2 separate regions of the Homo sapiens genome follow, and region 1 is linked to region 2. Evidence: promoter capture Hi-C in 16 types of primary human blood cells and fetal thymus (Javierre and others, 2016). All regions are on one chromosome and are shown on one strand. The core of a region is centred on a gene start or on the middle of the fragment in contact, and the rest is flanking DNA. Distances in the headings are between cores, read along the strand shown. Region 1 holds the start of MAMSTR (MEF2 activating motif and SAP domain containing transcriptional regulator). Region 2 holds the start of QPCTL (glutaminyl-peptide cyclotransferase like).

Region 1 (5,137 bases), core at 1,609-4,108, 3.0 Mb after region 2:
ACCTTGCCCGGCGTCATTTTTTTGTATTTTTAGTAGAGACATGGTTTCGCCATGTTGGCCAGGCTGGTCTTGAACTCCTGACCTCAGGTGATCCACCTGCCTTGGCCTCCCAAAGTGCTGGGATTACAGGTAAGAGCCACCGCGCCCCACCTGGATGAATGTTCACTTTCTTATGTGCACAGTCAGGGTTTGTCCCCCAATTTGGGAGCAAGGATCTCTCTGCACATTTCTGCTTTTCTCTGGACATATGCGCCTTTTTGTATACTCCTTGCTCTTTGATTGCTGGTGTCTTTGTACCCATCCAACCACATAGGCACGCTCACGTGCACACTCAAGTACCCTTTGCCTTCTCAGGAACTGATCTGTAGTTCGAAACACTTGCACACTTCTTTTTTTTTTTTTTTTTTTTTTTTGAGATGGAGTTTCGCTCTTGTTGCCCAGGCTGGAGTGCAATGGCGTGATCTCGGCTCACCGCAACCTCCTCCTCCCGGGTTCAAGCGATTCTCCCGCCTCAACCTCCCAAGTAGCTGGGATTACAGGCATGCGCCACCACACCCGGCTATACTTGCAGACTTTTTGCCTGCCCTGGGACCTAAAACAAGACCTTTGACACTTTCACAGCTTGACAGCTCATTGTCCCCTCACCCAAACTCCCACACTGGTCCTCTGAGGTCCCTCCTCTGCTCTTCTGCCCCTGCGTGTGCGCCAGTATAAGCCTTTGTTTCTCTTCAGTGCTTGAGCCCTCTGCACGCCTACCCCTGGCCTCCAATCCCCATTGCTCCCCCCGTGAGCATGCTACTAGCCATTTGCACACTCGTTGATCCACCACAGCCGGACCCCTGTGCTTGGGCCTCCTTTATGCAACATGACCTTTTGCACAAAAAACACAGGCCTCATGGGACCTACCACCCCTCCCTTCCCACCCCAGAGTACAGCATTCTCAGGATCCCATCCCCCACGCATAAAGAGAGCCCTCTCTCACCAGATCGGAACTTGGAGCGAATGATTTGGGAACGCTGGGAGGAAGCCGCCAGGGTCATTGCCAAGGCCGGGATGGGGACCTGGACGGAGAGGGGGCAGGGCAGGGGCCCCATAGAGGGCTGGCTCAGAGTGGAGGTCAGGAGGCCGCCCCTGAGAGTGAATTCAGCAGGGAAAGGGCCCGAAGGAGGTGGGAATAGGAGCAGCCTTGGGCCATAACTTCCGGATCCCAGGGGCTGTAGAGGAGGGGGCTGCACACCCGGACACCTTGCTCCGAGGAAGGAGGAAGCTGGGGACCCAGACACCTGGTCTGAAAGACAGGGCTGAGGGTCTCAACCCTGGGATCCTGGGAGGGGAGGGACCTGGAATCTGGGACTCCTGGGTCCTGAGGAGGAAGGGTTGCGGGTTGGGACCCCTGTGTCTAGGAAAGGGAGGAAGCAGAGGGGCCTGGAGTCTGGAATCTTGAAGGAGAAGGAGGTTAAGGGCTGGAACTCAATACTCTTAGGAGATGAGAATCCAAGATCCTGGGTGGAGAGGGGAACGGGGCCCTGACAGGTTTCTGAGGAATAGAAGGGCCCCTGTGACCTGCATCTGAGAAGGAGTGAGTAGGGTGTCAGCCACCAGGTTCTCTGGGGAAGGGACTGGGACCAGAGAGGGGATAGAACCGTTGAGGAGTGCGCCCCCCCCGTCCACCCCAGGGGCTTCTCACCAGGTGGGCTCGGCGAAGCTGTGCTCTGGGGCGGGTTGAGTCTAGAGGCCGAGGCTGGACACCACAGGCTCCGCCCCACCAGCCTGGGACCGCCTCCAACCCACCTTCCTGGGGTGTGACGGGAGCCCCGCCGGGGACCCTGAGAAGGGGTGGGAGCACCCGCTGGGAGGGCCTGTGCGGGCCTTGGGGGATGCTGGGGGGTGAGAGCGGGGACGTCAGGGTTCCCCGGCTCGCTCCTCCTGCACGTCCTGGGGTTGTGGGGTCGGGGGGAACGGTGGCAGGCGGACTGACAGAAGCAGGTGCCCGGAGAGGGGCGCCGGGTGAGCAGCAGCGGCAGGTGGTCGTGTCCTGGCCCTACCGGCAGGTGCCACCTGTCGCCTACTTTTTCCCTGACGCAGCAACTGGAGTCAAGTTCAGGGGAGTGAAAAGTTCAAACGGGGGGCCCAGATTCCTGGATCCAAGAAAGGAGAGGGATGGGGACCTGGAGTCCTGGGTTTAAAGAAAAAGAGGCAGGGGCCTCTGGGGTGTTGGGAACAGGGACAGAGGTGTTCGGATTCGGCGGTGTGCCCGGCAGGCAGAAAGGTCCAGAGGGGGCTGGGGACTTAGATTCCTGGGTCTGAGGGAGGAGGGGGCTGGAGTATGGATTTGGGGGGGTGTCGAAGGGAGAATCGCTGGTTCCCACTGGCAGGACTGAGGGCCTTATAATCGGCAGAGCAAGCTTAGGGCCGTGTTCTGAGGGGTGTGGGAGGCTCCTCTGCTCTTGGGTTGGATTACATGCAAAAGGGCGAGCCAAGGCCGTGGCTATAAATACCTCCTCAGACTCGGCAGGGGCCCAGACAAGGGCCCTGCAACCTTGTTCTGCAGAAAATCATCATTAGCGCCCCTGAGTCTTAACAATCGAGGCGCTGCCGATACCACGGATACCTTTATTGCTCCCTGGCATTCACATCCTAAGCCCATGCTCCCACCGTCCCATCCGCTACTTCCCGAAAACTCAATCTCCCAACATTCCACGCGGGATAAGAACTACAACTCCCAGAAAGCTTTGCGCTCAGGCGGGCTCCTGTCCGTAGAAGCCCGTGACATTTCAAGGTTCGCGCGCTCGTTTGGTATTGGTTCTCAAGGAGACGTGGCCACGGGAGGCCCATGGCGATAATTGGCTGGCAGCTCCTGCTGCTCAAGATCCCAGAGGAGGCGGCGGAGCCTACGGAGTTCACGGTGCAAGGCATCGTCCGTCACTGGACCAGTGAGGCGCAGGCGCGAGCTCCCCAGGGGGAGGATGAGGGGCGGGTGCGAGGAGAAGCTTTCGAAGATGTCCCCTGTGAGGCCGAAGGCGGCGCGGTTAGAGTCTGAAAGTGGGAGTGAGGTAGTTGCATCGGGAAGAGCCGAGGCTGCGTCACACCCAAAGGAAGAAAAAAACTACAAACCCCAGCAACTCCTGGGGCGGGGTCCGTTCACACGCTACTCTAGGAGCCCCTGGGCATGATGGAAGTTGTAGTTCAGACGATGGAAGGCCACCGTTGCCTGGGAAACGGCTTCCCAAATCCCCGAGAAAGGGCTGGGAACTTGCCTTACAGATTCCTAAAGGTGGAGGAGTCAAGTTCAGGGGAGTGAAAGTCCCGAGACCTGGACTCCTAGGGGTGGTGGGTGGGTGGCTGGTGGAGGGAATGGACTAGGGATGCGAACCCCAGAGAATAAAGGGAGCTGGGGGCTTGAACTCCTGTATCTTGACGGGGGAAGGGGCTGGGTCCTGCACTTATGTCCTGGTGGGGAGGGACAGGGGTCCAGAATCTGGGGTTAGAAGGAGACTGGGGATCTGGACTCCAAGATCCTGAGAAAAGAAGAAAGGTGAGGTGGTTCACGCCTGTAATCCCAGCACTTTGGGAGGCCGAGGCGGGCGGATCACGAGGTCAGGAGTTCGAGACCAGCCTGGCCAACACGGTGAAACCCCCGTCTCTACTAAAGATACAAAAAATTAGCCAGGCGTGGTGGCGCATGCCTGTAATCCCAGCTACTCGGGAGGCTGAGGCAGGAGAATCGCTTGAACCCGGGAGGCAGAGGTTGCAGTGAGCCAAGATCGCGCCATTGCACTCCAGCCTGAGTGACAGGGCGAGACTCCGTCTCAAAAGAAGAAGAAAGCTGACAGCCCCAATGCTGTATCCCATTGCTCCTCACCTGTGTCCACAGCCTCCCGCTCTGCAGGGGGAGGGTCCCACGCGGCTGGCGGCCCGCGGCCAGGGCCCAGCTGATAGTGGCTGAGCAGATGGTGCAGCTGGGCGGGGGTCAAGGTGGGGTGGTCGGTTCTTAGGCTGCTCCATGAAGCCTGGTGGGAAGACCAGGTGAGAGGTTGATGGTCATTACGGGGCAGTTAAGAAATGAAATGGAAGGGCTTCCATAAGGGGAGTGGGTGTGGTGGGAAGATAATGGCATCTCTGCAGTGTCTTCTGGGCACTGTGAAGTCTGTTTATCACCAAAGTGATGGTGGGGAAGGGTGTGCTCCCAGCAATTTGTAAAAATGTGATGTGCCTCAGGATAATTGAGGATACAGGAAATGAGTAGGGTGGAAATAAATAAGATTGGCCATTCGTTTATATTATTGAATCTGGCGATGGTACTTGGGGATTTTTTTTTTTTTTTTTTTTTTTTGTCCTTAAAGAGACAGGGTCTCACTCCGTCGCCCAGGCTGGAGTGCAGTGGCTCGATCGTGGCTTGCTGCAGCCTCAAACTCCCGGCTCAAGTGATCCTGGGCTCAAGTGATCCTTGGCCCCAGCCTCCAGAGTAGCTGGGACTACAGGCACACGCCACCACACCTGGTTAAGTTTTTGTAGAGATGGGATCTCACTATGCTGCCCAGGCTGGTCTCAAGCTTCTCAAAGTTCTAGGATTACAGGCATGAGCCACTGCGCCCAGTTGGGATTCATTATTCTATGGCGGCCACTCTATATCTGTTTGACAATGTCTACACCTGATGTAGCTGACGTCAGAACCATCAATGTGCTTAACATCAGAGACTCCACCTAGACTGCCTGAGTTCAAAAATCCCAGGTGGGTCACTTATTACCTTCCGGCAGGTCACCGTCCCCTAGTCTCCTCATCCATAAATTTGGAGAACAGGAACTATCTAATAGAGTTGGTATGAGGATGCAATATGGCAAAATTGTAAAGTACTTGGAACACTGCCTGGGGCTTATTAAATGCATGGTAAACTTTCTTTCTTATTGTTTTGAGACAGGGTCTTGCTTTGTCACCCATGCTGGAGTACAGTGGCATGACTGTGGCTCACTGCAGCCTCAACCTCCTGGGCTCAAGCAGTCCTTCCACCTCTGCTTCTGGAGTGGCTGGGACCACAGACGTGTGCCTCCACACCTGGCTAATTTTTAAAATTTTTGGTAGAGATGGTGTCTCCCCTATGTTGCCAACTGGTGTCAAACTCCTGGGCTCAAGCGGTCC
Region 2 (5,493 bases), core at 1-2,500:
GCCACCGCGCTCGGCCTCCCCCAGTATTCGTAAAATCGCTGCCCCTTAACATTCATTTCAATAGGACTAATTATCTAGGACCACTCCCGTTATCGTTTAAAACATGTTTTTCATAATTAAATTTTTTTTTTTTTTTGTAGAGACGGGGGTCTCGCTATGTTGCCTAGGCTAGTCTCGAACTCCTGTGTTCCAGCGATGCTCCGCCTTGGCCTACTAAAGTGCTGGGATCACAGGAATGAGCCCCCGCGCCCAGCCCAGGGCGTTATCTGATAAAGCTGTCCCCTCTCCCGAAGTCACGATGCGTCAAAGGCCCCACGCCCGTTCTCAAACTCATCAGGAGAAAAGCAGGACGCTGCATCCCTAAAACATCTGCCCCTGCCCCCCCCGCTCTGCTCAACCCTTCCCACACTCAATCGGTCAAATATCCACCCTCAACCTCATTCCCGCCGCCTAAGCCTAGCCCGGCCTCACATGATGGTCACTACGCTCTCCGTTCACTCCCGTTTCCTCCGCGTTGCTGCTGCCTGAGGAGAGAGAGGCGGGACTTCCTCTTCCTGCGACCCACTTCCGTTGGCGCCTGCGCAAAGCCAACCAGTAAGTGGAGGCGTGGCCTGTTGCCACAGCATTCCCCACCAACGGTGCACAATGATGGAATAAAAGCTTCGGGTAGGGGTTCGCGGCCAGTCAGAACCACACGGGGGCAGATGTTTATGACAATGAAGACAAAAGGAAAGGCAGTCTGATTCAAACCGTTTCTTGAAGAATGGTACAGGTTGAAGGAGGGAAATGACAAGCTATTTCCAAATGCCCGCCGGCCGTGACTTCGGGGGCGCGGCCTCCGTGAAGCCAATCCGCTCCTCGCTTCGGAGACAGGCACCGCCCCTCTTCCCTCTGGGACGCGTTACTGACGTATCTACTGATCTTTCCGACCCTGCGCCACCAATCCCCTGCCTACATCCGGAAGGGGCATGGACCTGCGCCCGGGAGATCGAATATTTTCCATGATCAAACGCTGTTCATTGGCTTTCCCTCCTCCGCTAAGGCGGAGCCTACTTCTCTTGCGCTCCCATTTGGGTCGTGCCATTCTCAGGGGAACCAACCCCAATACCTAAGGGAGGCTGGGAGGCGTGTCCTCAGGACCGTAGTTCTTATTGGTTTCGCTGCTCGCTGTGGGGTGGGCTGGTGCAGCCGCAGCTGTTGCTTATTGGCCCACCGATTCCATGGGGAGGAACTTGGCTGGGCCTAAACTCAATCCGTGGTCTGGTACAGGTTTCAGGGCAAAGCGGCCATGCGTTCCGGGGGCCGCGGGCGACCCCGCCTGCGGCTGGGGGAACGTGGCCTCATGGAGCCACTCTTGCCGCCGAAGCGCCGCCTGCTACCGCGGGTTCGGCTCTTGCCTCTGTTGCTGGCGCTGGCCGTGGGCTCGGCGTTCTACACCATTTGGAGCGGCTGGCACCGCAGGACTGAGGAGCTGCCGCTGGGCCGGGAGCTGCGGGTGAGGCTGGGCGGGGACCCGGGCACCGCGGGGACCCTCATTCCCTCCCCGCTGTTACCCAGGGTTGACGTGGCTTTAGCGTACGGCCCTAACCGCAGATGCCACCGTCTTCGTCATCTGAGCGCATGACCCTTACCAAAGGAATAAGGCTTCGGGCTGGTTCTGCAACAGTAGCTTCCTTTTAAGAGGAAAGGTCTGAAATAGTAAGACGGGGGGGTTCAGGGTTCTACGCCTTTAGTCAACTATTTGGAAGAGTCCCTTCCTCCATCTCCCCTCTCTCTCACTGGGCCTCGATTTCCCCATCAAGTTTGAGGTAGGCTGGACCGGATGGTCTTGGAAGGACTTTTCCTGAGCCTTGGATTTATCCTAGAAGTCTCCGATGCTGGAGGCGGCAGATTAGGAAGAGAACCCGGGGCTCCTCGCGGGTGACGGCGCCCGGGGTAGGGTTGAAATGGGGGGGTTGCTCTCATTCTTCCCTTCCCTATCCCACCTCCTTCCCAAGGTCCCATTGATCGGAAGCCTCCCCGAAGCCCGGCTGCGGAGGGTGGTGGGACAACTGGATCCACAGCGTCTCTGGAGCACTTATCTGCGCCCCCTGCTGGTTGTGCGAACCCCGGGCAGCCCGGGAAATCTCCAAGTCAGAAAGGTAAAGGGACCCACCTCCAGTCCCTGACCCCCTAGCCCTCCAGGGAATGGGAAATAAGAATCCTGTTCAAGATCCCAAAGAAGCTAAGAGGAGGAACTGGGGCTCTGACTGGAGTTAATCGGACTCTAGACTCCATGCTGGTAACAAACCACCAGGCTGTACTGCCCCCCTTAATGCCCCCACCAAAAGCTTACTGTGTGCTAGGCATAGGCAACAGACAGCCCTATAAGGTGGGTACCAATATGATCTTCATTATGCAGATGGGGAAACTGAGGCTCAGAGAGGTTATACACATTGCACAAATCCTACAGATAATAAGTAGTAGACCTTAGCCGGGTGCAGTGGCTCATGCCTGTAATCCCAGCACTTTGGGAAGCCAAGGTGGAAGAATCACCTGAGAAGTTTGAGACTAGCCTAGTCAACCTAGTGAGACCCAATGTTTAGAAAATCATAGACCTAGAGTTGAACCCAAACAGGTTGGCTCCGAGCTGGTGCTGTAATGTATCTGTTGTCTTCCAGAAAGCATGAAGAGTCATTTAAAGGCCAGGCGCAGTGGTTCACACCTCTAATCCCAGCACTTTGGGAGGCCGAGACAGGCAGATCCCTCGAGATCAGGAGTTTGAGACCAGCCTGGCCAACATGGTGAAACCTCATCTCTACTAAAAATACAAAATTAGCCAGGCGTGGTGGTGGGTACCCGTAGTCCCAGCTACTTGGGAGGCTGAGGCACGAGAATCACTTGAACCCAGGAGGCGGAGACTGCAGTGAGCTGAGATTGCGCCACTGCACCCCAGCATGGGTGACAGAGCGAGACTCCATCTCAAAAAAAAAAAGTCACTTAAATACTGCCTGAGTCCCAATGCTACCTCATCCACTTAGATTGTGACCTTGGACTGGTTTCTTTTTTATTTTATTTTATTTTATTTTATTTTGAGATGGAGTCTCACACTGTCGCCTGGGTTGGAGTGCAGTGGCGCGATCTCGGCTCACTGCAACCTCCACCTCCCAGGTTCAAGCAAATCTCATGCTTCAGCCTCCTGAGTAGCTGGGATTACAGGTGTGCACCACCATGCCTGGCTAATTTTTTGTATTTTTAGTGAGACGGGGTTTCACCATATTGGCCAGGCTGGTCTCAAACTCCTGACCTTATGATCCGCCCACCTCAGCCTCCCAAAGTGCTGGGATTACAGGCGTGAGCCACCGCGCCCGGCCTGGACTAGTTTCTTAACCTCTCTGAGCCCATTTCCTCATCTGTAAAATGGGGTCATGTATTGGCAGTCCCTCCCCTAAATGGTTCCTAGAAGAGGGCTTAGCACACAGTGAGAGCTATTTAAGGGTAAGCTGTGATGAGTCTTGCTGGCTTCAAGAGGTGGGGTCTCCCCAACATCTGGCACCCAGTAGGTACTCACCAGCACTGTCAAGGGAATGATTTTAATCAGAGTAGGGGGCTGGGCACAGTGGCTCACATCTGTAATCCCAACACTTTGGGATGCTGAAGCAGGCAGATCACTTGAGGTCAGGAGTTCGAATACCAGGCTGGCCAACATTGTGAAACCCCATCTCTACTAAAAATACAAAAAATAGCCAGGCGTTGTAGGGGGCGCCTGTAACCCCAGCTACTCAGGAGGCTGAGTCAGGAGAATCACTTGAAGCCAGGAGGCAGAGGTTGCAGTGAGCCAAGATCAAGCCACTGCACTCCAGCCTGGGTGACAGAGCAAGACTCCATCTCAAAAAAAAAAAGAAAGAAAGAAAGAAATCCATTCAATCAGAGTGGGGCTTTAGTGTCAACCCATCTGCTCTGCATGGCTCAGGTCACGTGGCCCTTCTCCCCACCTCCTCCCCAGTCCCCGTCCACCCTCCCACCTCTCTCTTGCCGCTAGTTCCTGGAGGCCACGCTGCGGTCCCTGACAGCAGGTTGGCACGTGGAGCTGGATCCCTTCACAGCCTCAACACCCCTGGGGCCAGTGGACTTTGGCAATGTGGTGGCCACACTGGACCCAAGGGCTGCCCGTCACCTCACCCTTGCCTGCCATTATGACTCGAAGCTCTTCCCACCCGGATCGACCCCCTTTGTAGGGGCCACGGATTCGGCTGTGCCCTGTGCCCTGCTGCTGGAGCTGGCCCAAGCACTTGACCTGGAGCTGAGCAGGGCCAAAAAACAGGTGAGGAGCAGGAGTCGGGGAGGGTAGTGGGCTACCTCCACCTTTTCCCAAGCCCCCACCCTCCCTTGCCTGGACATTTGTCATCCCTCTCGTCTTCCCACTCTACTCCACGCACAGAGCCACAGGGATCTTTTTTTTTTTTTTGAGACGGAGTTTCGCTCTTGTTCCCCAGGATGGAGTGCACATGGCGAGATCTTGGCTCCCCGCAACCTCTGCCTACTGGGTTCAAGCAATTCTCCTCCCAACCTCAGGTGATCTGCCCACCTCGGCCTCTCAAAGTGCTGGGATTACAGGCGTGAGCCACCGCGCCTGGTCATCACAGGGATCTTTTTACCTTCTAGATGTCAGATTCTCTTTCCTCTCCCCCAAACCCTCCCAGGGCTCCCGCCTCATTCCAGCCATAATCCAGAGTCCTTATATTGGCCCACGAGCTGTGCCCTGTTACCTCTCCAGCCTCATCTCCCACCCCTCACCTCTTGCTCACTCTGCTGTAGCCACCCCCACCTCCTCTGGGTTCCTCAAACCCGCAGAGCTTGCTCCCACCTCAGGGCATCTGCACTTGCTGTTTGCTTTGGATAGAATGTGCTTTTCTGGCCAGGCTCCGTGGCTCACACTTGGAATCCCAGCACTTTGGGAGGTTGAGGTGGGTGGATCACAAGGTCAGGAGTTCAAGACCAGCCTGGCCAACATGATGAAACCCCATCTCTACCAAAAACACAAAAATTAGCCAGGCTTGGTGGTGCACACCTGTAACCCCAGCTACTCGGGAGGCTGAAGCAGAGAATTGCTTGAACCCGGGAGGCGGAGGTTGCAGTGAGCCAAAGTTGCACCACTGCACTCCAGCCTGGGCAACAGAGCGAGACTCCATCTCAAAAAAAAAAAAAAATTATCTGGGAGTAGTGGCATGCTACTTGGGAGGCTGAGAGGGGAGGATGGCTTGAGTCTAGGAGTTTGAGACTGCAGTGAGCCATGATCGTGCCACTGTATTCTAGCCTGGGTGACAGAGACCTTGTCTCTTAAAAAAAAAAAAAAGAATATGCTTTTCATAGATATCTTCCTGGCTGGCTCCCACTCTTCACTCAGGTGTCCACTCCAATGTCACCCCTTCAAAGAGGCCTTCCCGGCCGGGCGTGGTAACTCGCACCTGTAATCCCAGCACTTTGGGAGGCCGAGGCAGGCAGATCATTTGA

The links. The method cuts DNA at HindIII sites, captures the fragments that hold promoters and counts their contacts. A CHiCAGO score of 5 or more calls a contact.
Region 1: a contact is called between a fragment that was not itself captured here and the fragment with the promoter of QPCTL in region 2, in 1 of 17 cell types (fetal thymus). The highest score is 5.5, in fetal thymus.

What each region holds. Positions count from the first base shown.
Region 1 is chr19:48,717,992-48,723,128 of GRCh38, forward strand. MAMSTR (MEF2 activating motif and SAP domain containing transcriptional regulator) reads right to left here and starts at 1,734. Exons shown (of 10, transcript NM_001130915.2): 1 at 1,688-1,734; 2 at 983-1,061. The coding sequence starts at 1,040. RASIP1 (Ras interacting protein 1) reads right to left here. Exons shown (of 12, transcript NM_017805.3): 11 at 3,863-4,010; 12 at 2,594-3,006. The coding sequence ends at 2,807. RefSeq lists enhancers at 2,375-3,320, 3,025-3,074 and a cis regulatory region at 2,517-3,057. The HindIII fragment of the contact is 260 bases long and covers 2,729-2,988 here.
Region 2 is chr19:45,691,416-45,696,908 of GRCh38, forward strand. QPCTL (glutaminyl-peptide cyclotransferase like) reads left to right here and starts at 1,251. Exons shown (of 7, transcript NM_017659.4): 1 at 1,251-1,495; 2 at 1,998-2,141; 3 at 4,022-4,303. The coding sequence starts at 1,289. It overlaps SNRPD2 (small nuclear ribonucleoprotein D2 polypeptide), which reads right to left and starts at 538. Exons shown (of 3, transcript NM_001384647.1): 1 at 472-538. The coding sequence starts at 473. RefSeq lists enhancers at 74-794, 613-742, 753-882, 1,408-1,958. The HindIII fragment of the contact is 1,670 bases long and covers 659-2,328 here.